Regions from separate parts of the Homo sapiens genome. Here region 1 is linked to region 2. The links are contacts of gene promoters, found by promoter capture Hi-C in human tissues and cell types (Jung and others, 2019). All regions are on one chromosome and are shown on one strand. Each heading gives the region's core, a stretch centred on a gene start or on the middle of the fragment in contact. The rest is flanking DNA. Distances are from core to core; before and after follow the strand shown. Region 1 overlaps NFX1 (nuclear transcription factor, X-box binding 1). Region 2 holds the start of AQP7 (aquaporin 7).

Region 1 (5,846 bases), core at 1,393-3,892, 40 kb after region 2:
ACTTGGCCAGCATCTTTATTTTCTTTTTCTTTCTTTCTTTTTTATTGAGACAGGATCTCAAGCTGGAGATCCAAGCTGGAGTACAGTGACTCAACCTCAGCTTACTGCAGGCTTGACCTCCTGGGCTTAAGCAATCCTCCTGCCTCAGCCCCCTGAGTAGCTGGGATTATGGGTGTGCACCACCACACCTGGCTAATTTTTTATTTTTTGTAGAGACAGGGTTTTGCCACGTTGCCCAGGCTGGTCGTGAACTCCTGGACTCAAGTGATCCGCCTGCTGCCTCAGCCTCCCAAAGCGCTGGGATTACAGGTGTGAGCCACCGTGCCTGGCATTTACTTACAGCTGACTGCAGAGCTTTCTTTCTTTCTTTCTTTCTTTTTGAGACAGAGTTTCACTCTTGTTGCCCAGGCTGGAGTGCAGTGGCAGAATCTCAGCTCACAGCAACCTCTGCCTCCCGGGTTCAAGGAATTCTCCTGCCTAAGCCTTGCAAGTAGCTGGAATAACAGGTGCCCGCCACCACACCCAGCTAATTTTTATATTTTTAGTAGAGACAGGGTTTCGTCATGTTGGCCAAGCTGATCTAGAACTCCTGACCTCAAGTGATCTGCCTGCCTTGGCCTCCCAAAGTGCTGGCATTACAGGCATGAGACACTGTGCCCAGCCGACTGTAGATCTTTTCTGCAGTCAACTGTCCTGAACCAGGACAGGCTTCCACAGATGTTATAATGGCTGTGTTTTGAGAAAGATAAGGATCCTCAAAGAAGTTGTGACTTTTTCCTACAACTACTCTAGGTTGAAAGTGTTTCCAGGACTTGATTGCTTTTTTTTTTTCATCAAGCTGGCCTTAGAGAAATGTCCAGTGGGATGTTTCGACTTCAACCTTATTCACGGCCTCCACGAGGGTTTCCATTTCCTTCTCAACGTCACTGACAAACTTTAAGTCCTTCCTGAAATGAGAAATCACCAGTTAATTTTGTCTGTCCCTGCCCTTCTGAGAACCCCTTTCACCCATCCTCTCCCTGTAAAGCGTAGACAATAGACAATGCTGGCAGTAAAACTGCAGAGATCAGGAATTGTCAGAAAACAGAAGGATGACTGACGGAAGAACAAAAGAGAAAAATATAAGAAATGAGAAGATGAAAGGAGAAGTAGCCACTGAAAGGCCAGGGACTCCAGGAGAAAAATAAGAGCTGTTATAGCTCCAACTGAGAACGCATGTGAATGTGAGACTGGGGTGGACAGAAGTGGAATGAAGCCCAGAGATCCTCCAATTTAGTCTAGTCCAGCCCTTGGGAGGCCCAAACTCTTACCACCACCCCACCCAAACTCTTATCTCAACCCTACCCCAAGTTCAGTTCTTTAAGGGGACAGTTTCGAGAAACCAAGAGAAGGATATTTATTAAACAGCACATAATCTCTTACAATAGATAAACAAACAAACTTGAACTGGCTTAATCACAGGAGGAGTACATATTAGTTATGACATCTCAAAAGACCAAACACCCTGACAAGCCACAATTAAGAAAGCAGGTAACAAGTTACATACCTGGCATCTTCTTTCAAACTATCACTGAATTTTGACCCTGAAGAACGTATATTGAAAGGATCAGAATCCTCACTGATATGAAATGCCTCTGCTAATCTCCTGAAAGAGAGAGAGAGGTATGCAAATAAAAGGAGTGGGAGGGAAACTATCTTGCAGTAACCCCGAGTGCCTACTATATCCTAAATTCTTTACACATTATTTATCTCTATTTTGGTAAACTGGATTATTAAGGAGAGAATAACAACAACTTGGGACATGAGGTGGTATTGTCTTCATAAAAGAAAATAAACAGATCTATAAGGATCTGAGCAAGTCATAGGCTGAACACTGGGGACTTAGATTATTTGGGGAAGAGGAGTTTGGGGGTGTGGGATCACTGAGAATGGTCAATGGGGGATGACTTTCTCTGAGGCTTTGTTTAAAGATAAGGTACATAAAATAGACATACAAATGTTAAAATTAATATAGAAATCTGAAAAGTAAAGAATTCCATTAACATATACACTTCATTTTTATACATTTCTTGGCTGGGTGCGGTGGCTCACACCAGTAATCCTAGGACTCTGGGAGGCCAAGGTAGATGGATCACTTGAGGCCAGGAGTTCGAGACCAGCCTGGCCAATATGGTGAAACCCTGTCTCTACTAAAAATACAAAAATTAGCCGGGTGTGGTAGCACGTGCCTGTAATCCTAGCTGCTAGGAGGCTGAGGCATGAGAATCACTTGAACTCAGGAGAAAGAGGTTGCAGTGAACCGAGATTGTGCCACTACACTCCAGCCTGGGCAACACAGTGAGACTCTGTCTAAAAATAATAATAATAATAATAATAATAATAATAATAATACATTTCTTTATTATTTTATTTTTATTGACCCATTGTCATTGCTTCATATTTATGAAGCAGTTTGATGTTGATGTCTCGGTACATATATACTATGTTGTATAATGACCAAATCAGTGTATTAGGCATATCCATCACCTGATGCCCTTATTATTTCACTGTGGTGAGAATACACAGAAGCCTCTTTTCTAGCTATTTTGTAAAATACTACACCTTACCGTTAACCATCATCACCCCAGTGTGCCATAGAACACGAGAACTTAGGCTGGGTACGGTGGCTCACGCCTGTAATCCCAGCACTTTGGGAGGCCGAGGCGGGCGGATCACCTGAAGCTGGGAGCTCGAGACCAGCCTGACCAACATGGAGAAACCTCGTCTCTACTAAAAACACAAAAATTAGTCAGGTGTGGTTGTGCATGCCTGTAATCCCAGCTACTCAGGAGGCTGGGGCAGGAGAATCGCTTGAACCCGGGAGGCAGAGCTTGCAGTGAGCTGAGATAGCGCCATTGCACTACAGCCTGGGCAACAAGAGCAAAACTCCTTCTCAAAAAAAAAAAAAAAAAAAAAAAAAAAACCACAGGAACTTATTACTACCATCTATTTGTAACTTTATATCCACTGACCAACCTCTCCTCAACCTCCCTTTTCCACCCTGTCCCTCTTCTCAGTCAGACAACACTGGTCTACTCTCTGCTTCTGTATTATTTTTTAAATATTCTACATATGAGTGAGATCGTGTGGTGTCTGTCTTTCTGTGTCTGGCTTATTTCACTTAACATGATGTCCTCCAGGTCCATCCATGTTGTTGCAAATGACAGGGTTTCATTTTTTTTATGGCCGAATAGTATTTCATTCTGTATATATACCCCATTTTCTTTATCCATGCAGCCATGTTGGCCACTTCAGTTGATTTCATATCTTGGCTATTGTAAATAGTGCTGCAACAAATATGAGAGTACAGGTATCTCTACAGATTTTATTTCCTCTGTAGAGATACCAAGTAATAGGATTGCTGGATCATATGGTAGTTCTATTTTTAATGTGAGGAAATTCCATACTGTTTTCCATAGTGGCTGTACTAATTTACAATCCCACCAAGAATGTGTAAGTGTTCCCTTTTTTCTAATTGTTTTTTTTTTTTTTTTGAGGCTGGGTCTGGCTCTTGTTGCCCAGGCTGGAGTGCAGTGGCATGATCTCAGCTCACTGTAACTTCCACCTCCTGGGCTTAAGCCATCCTCCTACCTCAACCTCTCCAGTAGCTGGCACTACAAGTGTGCCACCATGCCCGGCTAATTTTTGTATTTTTTGTAGAGACAGGGTTTTGCTATGTCGCCCAGGCTGGTCTTGAACTCCTGAGCTCAAGTGATCCGCTGGCCTCAGCCACCCAAATGCTGGGATTATGGGGATGAGCCGCTGTAACGGGCCCCTTTTTTCACTATAACGTTTCTCTCTATGTGTATATATATATATTTTTGGAGATGGAGTCTTGCTCTTGTCGCCCAGGCTGCTCTTGTCGCCCAGGCTGGAGTACAATAGCATGATCTCGGTTCACTGCAACCTCCACCTCCTGGATTCAAGCGATTCTCCTGCCTCAGCCTCCCGAGTAGCTGGGATTACAGGCGCCCGCAACCATGCCCAGCTAATTTTTGTATCTTTAGTAGAGATGGGGTTTCACCATGTTGGCCAGGCTGGTCTTGAACTCCTGACCTCAGGTGATCCACCCGCCTCGACCTCCCAAAGTGCTGGGATTACGGGTGTGAGCCACTGCGCCCAGCCTTTCTCTATAATTTTAAGTACCGCCATTATTATATTCAAAATTGTCTCACCCCCCCAAAAATAAGAATGTGAGGTAATGCATATGCTAATTAGCTTGATTTAGCCATTCCACAATGTATACATACACATCATGCTGTATTACCATAAATATATACCATTTTTATTTAATAAAAAAATTTTAAAAATTAAAAAAACCTTGTTTCTTTGCCTCTCAGCATTATCTTGTTAGCATTTCTCATATTATTATTTTGTTTTCACACTTAACTGTCTTCATGGCTCATAGTCTTCTAATTATGTTCCCATATTTTAATCATTTCCCATTTAGGTTTCTTTAACAGTTCCTCAGTTTCTCAATATTATATACGACACAATTAATATCTCTGTGCAAAAAGCTTTGAAAATGTTTCCAGTTGTGGGGTACATGGAGTGGACATAAGACTCTTGATCAATGTGGAGTAAGTGGTCTCCAGAAATGCCACTTAGTGCCCTAGCCATCAGTGTCTGAATCTCATGGCATCTCACCAACATTCAAGTTATTTTATTTTTTTAAAGCTAGATTTCAGCTTAGCACTTAGTACAATTTTCATTTACACTGCACCAAGAGTCACTTACAAGCTTAGTGCCCACAAGAATCTGGTTCACACTGCTAGATTTCCAATTTTTCAAAAGACACTTACTTTTCAAATTTTCAAGAGAATTTCTAGGGGAAGATCTTTTGATGTTTTGGTTAGTTGGCCACTAATTCAAATTTAAACACCAATAAAACCTGTCTGTGGGCTGAATTTGGCCTGCTAGGTTTTTATTTCTACAATAGAGATATACACACATACATATATATACACACAGGTGTATGCGTGTATATATGTGTGTGTATATATAGATATAACTTTAGATGGACTTTTCTTTAAATTTGCATTTTTTTCTCTTAGGTTTGTGTGTATTTATGAAAGACTCTATCCAGTAAGGGTCATTATGTCATCACCAAGATTGAGGAGAAATTCAAAAGGCTTTCAAAAATAGCTAGTTTTAATCAATAACATTTACTGAGTACCTACTATGTGCCAAGCTCTTGTGCCAAGAGCTTTATGAGTATCATTTTTAATGTATTAATCCTCACAACAACTCTGGAAGGTAAATACTGTTATTGTCATCATTTCTAGATTTTTAAGAAACCTAAGGCTTACAGACAATATGTGACTTGCCCAAGGTCTCATAGCTAAGTGATTTGTGAAGCCAGGATTCAAATCCAGACAATCTGACTCCAGAGCTCTGGCTCTAACTAGTATACAATATGTCTTTCAACCACCAAAAGTACATTTCCATGTTTGGAGACCTTCTGTGTATTCACTATAGCATTTCTGAATACCTAGGACTCCTAATTTACATTCTGCAGCTGAGAACACTGACTGACGGTTCCTAAAGGGCAAGGGTTTTGAACGGCACTCACTAGAAAGTTATTATAAGGGTCAAACCAAGGAAAATTTGGACAGCACTACTAGTCATCATATTACCTTCTACACACTTAATATGTAAAGAGGTACTATTAAAATTGCTGAAAGTCAAACTTCAAGGTAAAATAGGGCTATACTTTGTCTGCATTTGTCTAACTTTTTATCTTAAACAAATTTCAAAGACAAGTTATGAGAATATTACCATAAACTTCTATATAACCTTCACCTAAA
Region 2 (5,835 bases), core at 1,620-4,119:
TGTGTGTGTGTGTGTGTGTAGGTCCTGGACAGTCACAGTTTAAGCATCAAGAGGGCCTGAGTTTAGACCAAAGGTATACCAGGTATAAGGTTGTGGCAAATATTGTTTCTTTGAAATTTAAATTTAACTGGGCATCTTATATTTTATCTGGTAACTCTACTCAAGCCCATCCTATGAAGAAAGGACCCCGGGTGTCCCCTCCCTCTCTGCCCCCCAACTATCTCCACTGGCTCAGAGACCCAGAGACCCCCCGCCGCAGGCTCTGTGCAGACTAACATGCTTCACAGCTCTGACCCAAACTCCCACCTTGGTGGCCCCTTTAGCTGCCTCTCTTCTCTCTGCAGTTGAACTTTCTGCCTCCTCAGCCTCTGCTTCTTCAGTGCTGTTGCCACCCTCTATCCCCACCAGCTCATCCAGGCAGCTGTCTGCAAACACCTGCCTGGCCAGCCCCTCCCAGCACCCAACTCTGGGGCAACAGCCCCCTACTGGCTCCCATCAGCCTCTGGGCAGCCCTGTGTCTGGGTTTCCAGCTCCTTCCACACCCACTCCTTCTTCGTCATCCTTCTTCCCCAGAATCCTGGCCCTGGCCCTTGCCTCACTCCCTGTGCTTCTTGGGCAGCCCCAGCAACTCTAGTGCTGAATGTCCAGGGGCTGATATCTCCTCTTCTCTTTCTCCAGCTAGACTCCTCTCCCCAGCCCAGGCCCAACTGCGCCTCTGCCTGCTGGATGCCCTGGGGCCTCAGGGACCTCAGGTTGACCCTGTTGCTCTTCTCTTTGTTTAGAACCCTTTGCAGGCTCCTCAGGCCCTCGGGTTAAAGTCAGAACTCCTTGGCCTGGCTGACAAAGCCCTTCATGGTCTATCCCTGCCCACTTCCGCAGCCCTCTGCAAGTCACTCGCAGTTCCCAGGTTTTCTCACAATCCCATCAAGCTTCAAATGCCCCGGTGCCCCATCCCCCTGCTCGTTTTGGAAAACTCAGTTCCCACGTCACCTCTAACGGAAGACCCTTGTACCCCTCCAGCTTGGGATAGCCCCGTCTGTATTCCTTCCAGCCTATCTGGTGTGTCCTAAGTCACCTGCTGCTTACCTGTCTCTGCCGTGAGACAGATGGGACTGTGTCTTCTCCACCTCTCAGTCCCCAGGGTCAAGCCCTGTAAAAGAGCTTAGAGCCTGATCTCTGACCCCAGCATGGATCCCAATTCCCTCCCTCACCAACCTGACACCAGCCCATTCCAACTCTGCCCAAGTGCTGACCTCATCCAAGACCCCAGATCCACTTCTAACATGACCTCATCCCGGCCCTGGGAGCACACATGGGAAAGGAAAAAAGGCAGGACTCTCCCATTTCCAAGCGTGCACCCCTCCCTTCCTGAGGAAGAAAGGCTGAATCTTGAGCCCACGTAGAATCTGCAGAGGGAGGCCGGGCGCAGTGGCTCACACCTATAATCCCAGCACTTTGGGAGGCCGAGGCGGGTGCATTACCTGAGGTCAGGAGTTCGAGACCAGCCTGACCAACATGGTGACACCCCGTCTTTACTAAAAATCCAAAAAAACTAGCTGGGCTTGGTGGTGCATGCCTGTAATCCCAGCTACTTGGGAGGCTGAGGCAGGAGAATCACTTGAACTGGGAGGCAGAGATTGTGGTGAGACAAGACTGTGCCACTGCACTCCAGCCTGGGCGGAGCGGGACTCCGTCTCAAAAAAAAAAGAATCTGCAGAGGGAAGTTAGTGCCTTACAGAGGGCTTCTGACTAGGAAGCCCCGGGACTGTGGCCGACCCCTTCCTCTCCCTGCCTCACCCCTGCAGAAAGATCTGCAGAAAAAGCTGGAAGGGGTGGGAGGGTGTGTGCAGGGGTGGGGACTGGGGCTATGCAGGTTCCAGACCTGGTCTTTGGCACCCTCTACAGGACAGTTCCATTCCCAGACCTGAGCTTTGGACAACTGAATCTTATGCCCCTTCCCACCCATGGAGCCTGGTGCCGGAAGTTCCCAGGACTTACCCACCGTCCACCACGCCACATAGCAAGCGTCCTCAGTGTCTGCAGACCAGAAACACCTCCCTTGTGTCTCAGCACTGGGCCACCTGCTGAAACCCCAAACTGCCTGCCCCATTGTTTGAGACCCAGTCAGGCCTTGGCTCCAAAAGTCCTCTGGGACTGCTGCTGGCCCCCAGGGTCTCTCCTGACTGCACCTCGGTCCCGGAGCTCCCACACCGCTGAGCCCCGAGCCCGATGTCCCGATCCAGCTCTGGGTCCTTTACGGGGGCCTTGCTGGCCTTTCCTAAGGGAGGTGTTTTCCCGAGGACAGGTGGACTGCTCCTCAGACTAGGGGCCCTCGGAGGGCCAGGCCTGGGCTTCTACCTCCTCTCGCAGGCTGGTGTTTCTCTGCAAATATGGCTCGTGTGTCCTCCTTCCTCTCAGACTGGGGGCCCCTGAGGACTGGGCCTGAGTTTCCCTTTCCCCCTTCACAATGGGGGTTCCCTGAGGACTGACCCAGGGCCTCCCCCGTCCCCTCCACCTGGCTGTTAATCTCCAACACTTCCACCTCCAGTCCTATTCTGCACAGCTCTCCCCAGCGCTGGGGGCTCAGAGGCCTCTTCAGCCTTCCCCAGGGCTGGGGCTCAGGGAGGGCTTCCTCAGGCGCTGGCCCCAGAGTCAGGCTGCACATTGGCTTGGAGGACAGGCCTTTCCTCTGGGACTGAGAGGCCCAGAGTGCCCACCCAGAGCTCCACCTCTGACCTCACAAAGGCCTGCTTCAGAACTCGGTCTCCACGGCACTGCTGGCCGGACGAGGGATGTTATTTTGGGCAGTGCATCTGGACTTGGTTCAAGTGGCACCAGCCAAACCCCTGCCTTACTGACCTCTCCCCTGGAGGAGCAGGAGCAGCGCTCGAGGCCGCCCTGGGAGAGCTGAGAGGCAGGCTCTGGACTGGGGACACAGGGATAGCTGAGCCCCAGCTGGGGGTGGAAGCTGAGCCAGGGACAGTCACGGAGGAACAAGATCAAGATGCGCTGTAACTGAGAAGCCCCCAAGGCGGAGGCTGAGAATCAGAGACATTTCAGCAGAGTGAGTGGGGCTCCAGGCAGGGTGGGGATGGGGCAGCCTCCTCAGCGCCCAGATCTGGAAGGGCCATTCCCTGGGTACCATACAGGGAGGAGGTGACTGAGGGATTGTTTGGGGAAGGAGCCCCGTCTGGGAGTGGAAGTCCCGGCTTTCTTGTTATGGTGCAGTCCTGTGTTGCTGTGTGACACAGGCACATACACCCTCTCTCTGGGCCTCAGTTTCCTTACCTGTAAGTTGGTTGTTGGGAGGACCAGCGGTAGAGCAGAGATGGCAGGGATGCACTGAGCTGGGCTGTCAGCAGACCATGGGGGTGGGACGAGGAGAGAGCTGAAGACCACCGGCAGTGGACCACAGCGGGAGGCGTGCAGGCAGGAGACGGGTCAGCTGCCGGCTTGCTGGAGTCATTCCTCCCACGCAGTCCCCTCCTGAGGGGCTGGAGCTGGGGCTGGAGGGTTTCGGCAGTCAGGGCTGGAGATAAGAGTCTGTGCTGGAGCTAGAGGGAACTGGGCTAGAGAATCAGGAGGACAGACAGGGTGAGGGGACTTCGGGCTACCTTCATGCTGTCAGTTAGAGATAAAGATAGGAGTACAAAGGGGAATTTTTGGGTGAGGTACACGGGTGAAATGAGTTTTCAGGGCCTCATCCTGTGTGTTCACCTTCTGTGTGTGTGTGTGTGCATGCGTGCATGTGTGTGTGTGTGCAGGTCCTGGACAGTCGCAGCTTAAGTTAGCAGCAAGAGGACTTGAGGTTAAAGGTATAGCACGCAAATATGAGGCTGGAGCCACTGAGTAGAGGCTGAGGGCATCTCCACAGTCCAAAGCCGGGCTGCAGACACGGAAGGTCAGCAGGAGCACTGGAGGGTCTGGCCTGGGGCTGGGGTCCTGGGGCCAGCATGGGTGGGGTGGGGCTCCAGGGCGTCGCCTCATTGGCTGAGCACCGCTCCTCCCTCCCTGTTCCTTGGCTGGGTTAAGGGAGTGGCACTAGCAGGAGCTGCCCCAGGGCTTCTCCCCTGGGGACCAAGGTCTGATGGAAGTGTGGGGCCAAGTTCTGTGTCCTCCAGCCCTAGTGACCTCTCTTTGGCTCCTCAGCATCTACAAATCTGAAAGACAAAACATGGTTCAAGCATCCGGGCACAGGCGGTAAGTACCCCACCCTCTTCTCACCCTCCAGCCCCCTGTCCTTCACCCAGCCCACTTCAGTGCCCTCCCTGTTCCATCCTCAGCCTCTCCCTTGGGGCAGCTGTCCCCACTCGACCTCCTCCTCCCCACCCACCCACTCGCCTCTGAGGTCCCAGAAGAAGAGCATCTTCCACCTGTTGCCTGGGCTGGGTCCTGGGGTGAGGGGAGGCTCAGAAATACTTGGATGAGGGTCAAGGCATGCAGGTGGCCTTCAACTCAACTGCACTCAGCACCTCTCACCCTCTCAGGCTCAGCTGTCTTTGGGGTGAACAAGAGCCAGTCCTTGCAATGGCCAAGGCCCAGCCTTGTTAGCTTTCTGGCCTCCCCACTCCAGCCCCCTGCTCTCCCTCCTCCAGCCACACTGAGTTTCTTTTCAGGTTTTTTTTTTTTTCCGAGATGGAATCCAGTTCTGTCGCCCAGGCTGGAGTGCAATGGCATGATCTTGGCTCACTGCAACCTCCTCCTCCCGGGTTCAAGCGATTCTCTTGCCTCAGCCTCCTGAGTAGCTGTGATTACAGGATTACAAGCACACACTACCACACCCAGCTAATTATTATTATTATTATTTTGGTATTTTTAGTAGAAATGGGGTTTCGCCATGTTCGCCAGGCTGTTCTTGAACTCCTGACCTCAGGTGATCCACCCGCCTTGGCCTCCCAAAAGGTTGGGATTACAGGTGTGAGCCACTGCACCTGGCCTCACACTGACTTTCTTTGCTTTCTTCAAACATGCTGAGAGTCCTCTGGTGACTAGTCTCCCTCCACCTGAGAGGCTTTCTGCAGCTAACATACAGCCCACTCTCGTCTCCTTCATGGCTTTGCTCCAAGGCCACCTTCTCAACAAGGATTACTCTGGCTGCCCTATTTGAAATCACACCCCATCTCCAGCCCCTGCACTCCCAATTCCCCTCTCCTTGCTCTGTTTTTTTCCGTAGGAGCTGGTACCTTCGCTTATACAAATGTACTTACTTATTACATTTCATTGCTGTCAGCTCCACGCAAGCAGGGATATTTGCCTGTTGTACACTTGGACGGAGAGAATGAATAGTGCCACTCTGTTGACATCATTGCCTCTAGCCTACATCGCTCTCCAGGGCTTTAGATCCTGTTTCTAGAGACCCACTGGTGTCTCACAGGCAACTCAGCTCCTAGATGGAAACAGCCTCCTCCGCCCCCTGCAAGTCCACTCCTCCTGTGCTCTTGGCTCAGTCAGGGGTCCCCTTCTCCTCAGTTGCTCAAGCCAGAAGTCAAGGTCATGTCCTTCATACTTCCCTCTCCCCCATGTCTCACATCCAGTCACCAATCTCCTAAAATATCTAGAATGTGCACAGCTTCCACCATTCTTTCTACCACCACCCTACTCCCCCATGGCCATGTCAGGCCACCACCCGCCCATTCTTCAAAACCCCCTTCAGGCCTCACCTCCCATGCCTTCCCTGAGCTCCCCCAGTCCCAGGCTGCTTCTCTCTGGTGTTGTTGCCATTACCCATCTCTTCCATTAAACAGAGTGACCCAAGGGTGGAGAGTGGGTTTTGACTTTGTATCCCTGGTGCTTGACTCATAAGTAGATGCTCAACAAAAAAAAATTTTTTTTTTT

What was found. The method cuts DNA at HindIII sites, captures the fragments that hold promoters and counts their contacts. A contact is called where the count stands out against the background at its distance.
Region 1: a contact is called between a fragment that was not itself captured here and the fragment with the promoter of AQP7 in region 2, in 1 of the 25 tissues and cell types used here (bladder).

The regions. Positions count from the first base shown.
Region 1 is chr9:33,359,809-33,365,654 of GRCh38, reverse strand. NFX1 (nuclear transcription factor, X-box binding 1) reads right to left here. Exons shown (of 24, transcript NM_002504.6): 20 at 1,547-1,645; 21 at 881-947. Among named protein-coding and RNA genes, the nearest start is that of AQP7, 40 kb to the left of the region's middle. The HindIII fragment of the contact is 9,227 bases long and covers 1-5,846 here.
Region 2 is chr9:33,399,602-33,405,436 of GRCh38, reverse strand. It overlaps AQP7 (aquaporin 7), which reads left to right and starts at 2,869. Exons shown (of 8, transcript NM_001170.3): 1 at 2,869-3,064; 2 at 4,150-4,200. The coding sequence starts at 4,175. LOC105376020 (a long non-coding RNA gene) reads right to left here and starts at 3,916. Exons shown (of 3, transcript NR_188543.1): 1 at 3,615-3,916; 2 at 3,289-3,529. RefSeq lists an enhancer at 544-1,101 and a silencer at 3,652-3,946. The HindIII fragment of the contact is 13,402 bases long and covers 1-5,835 here.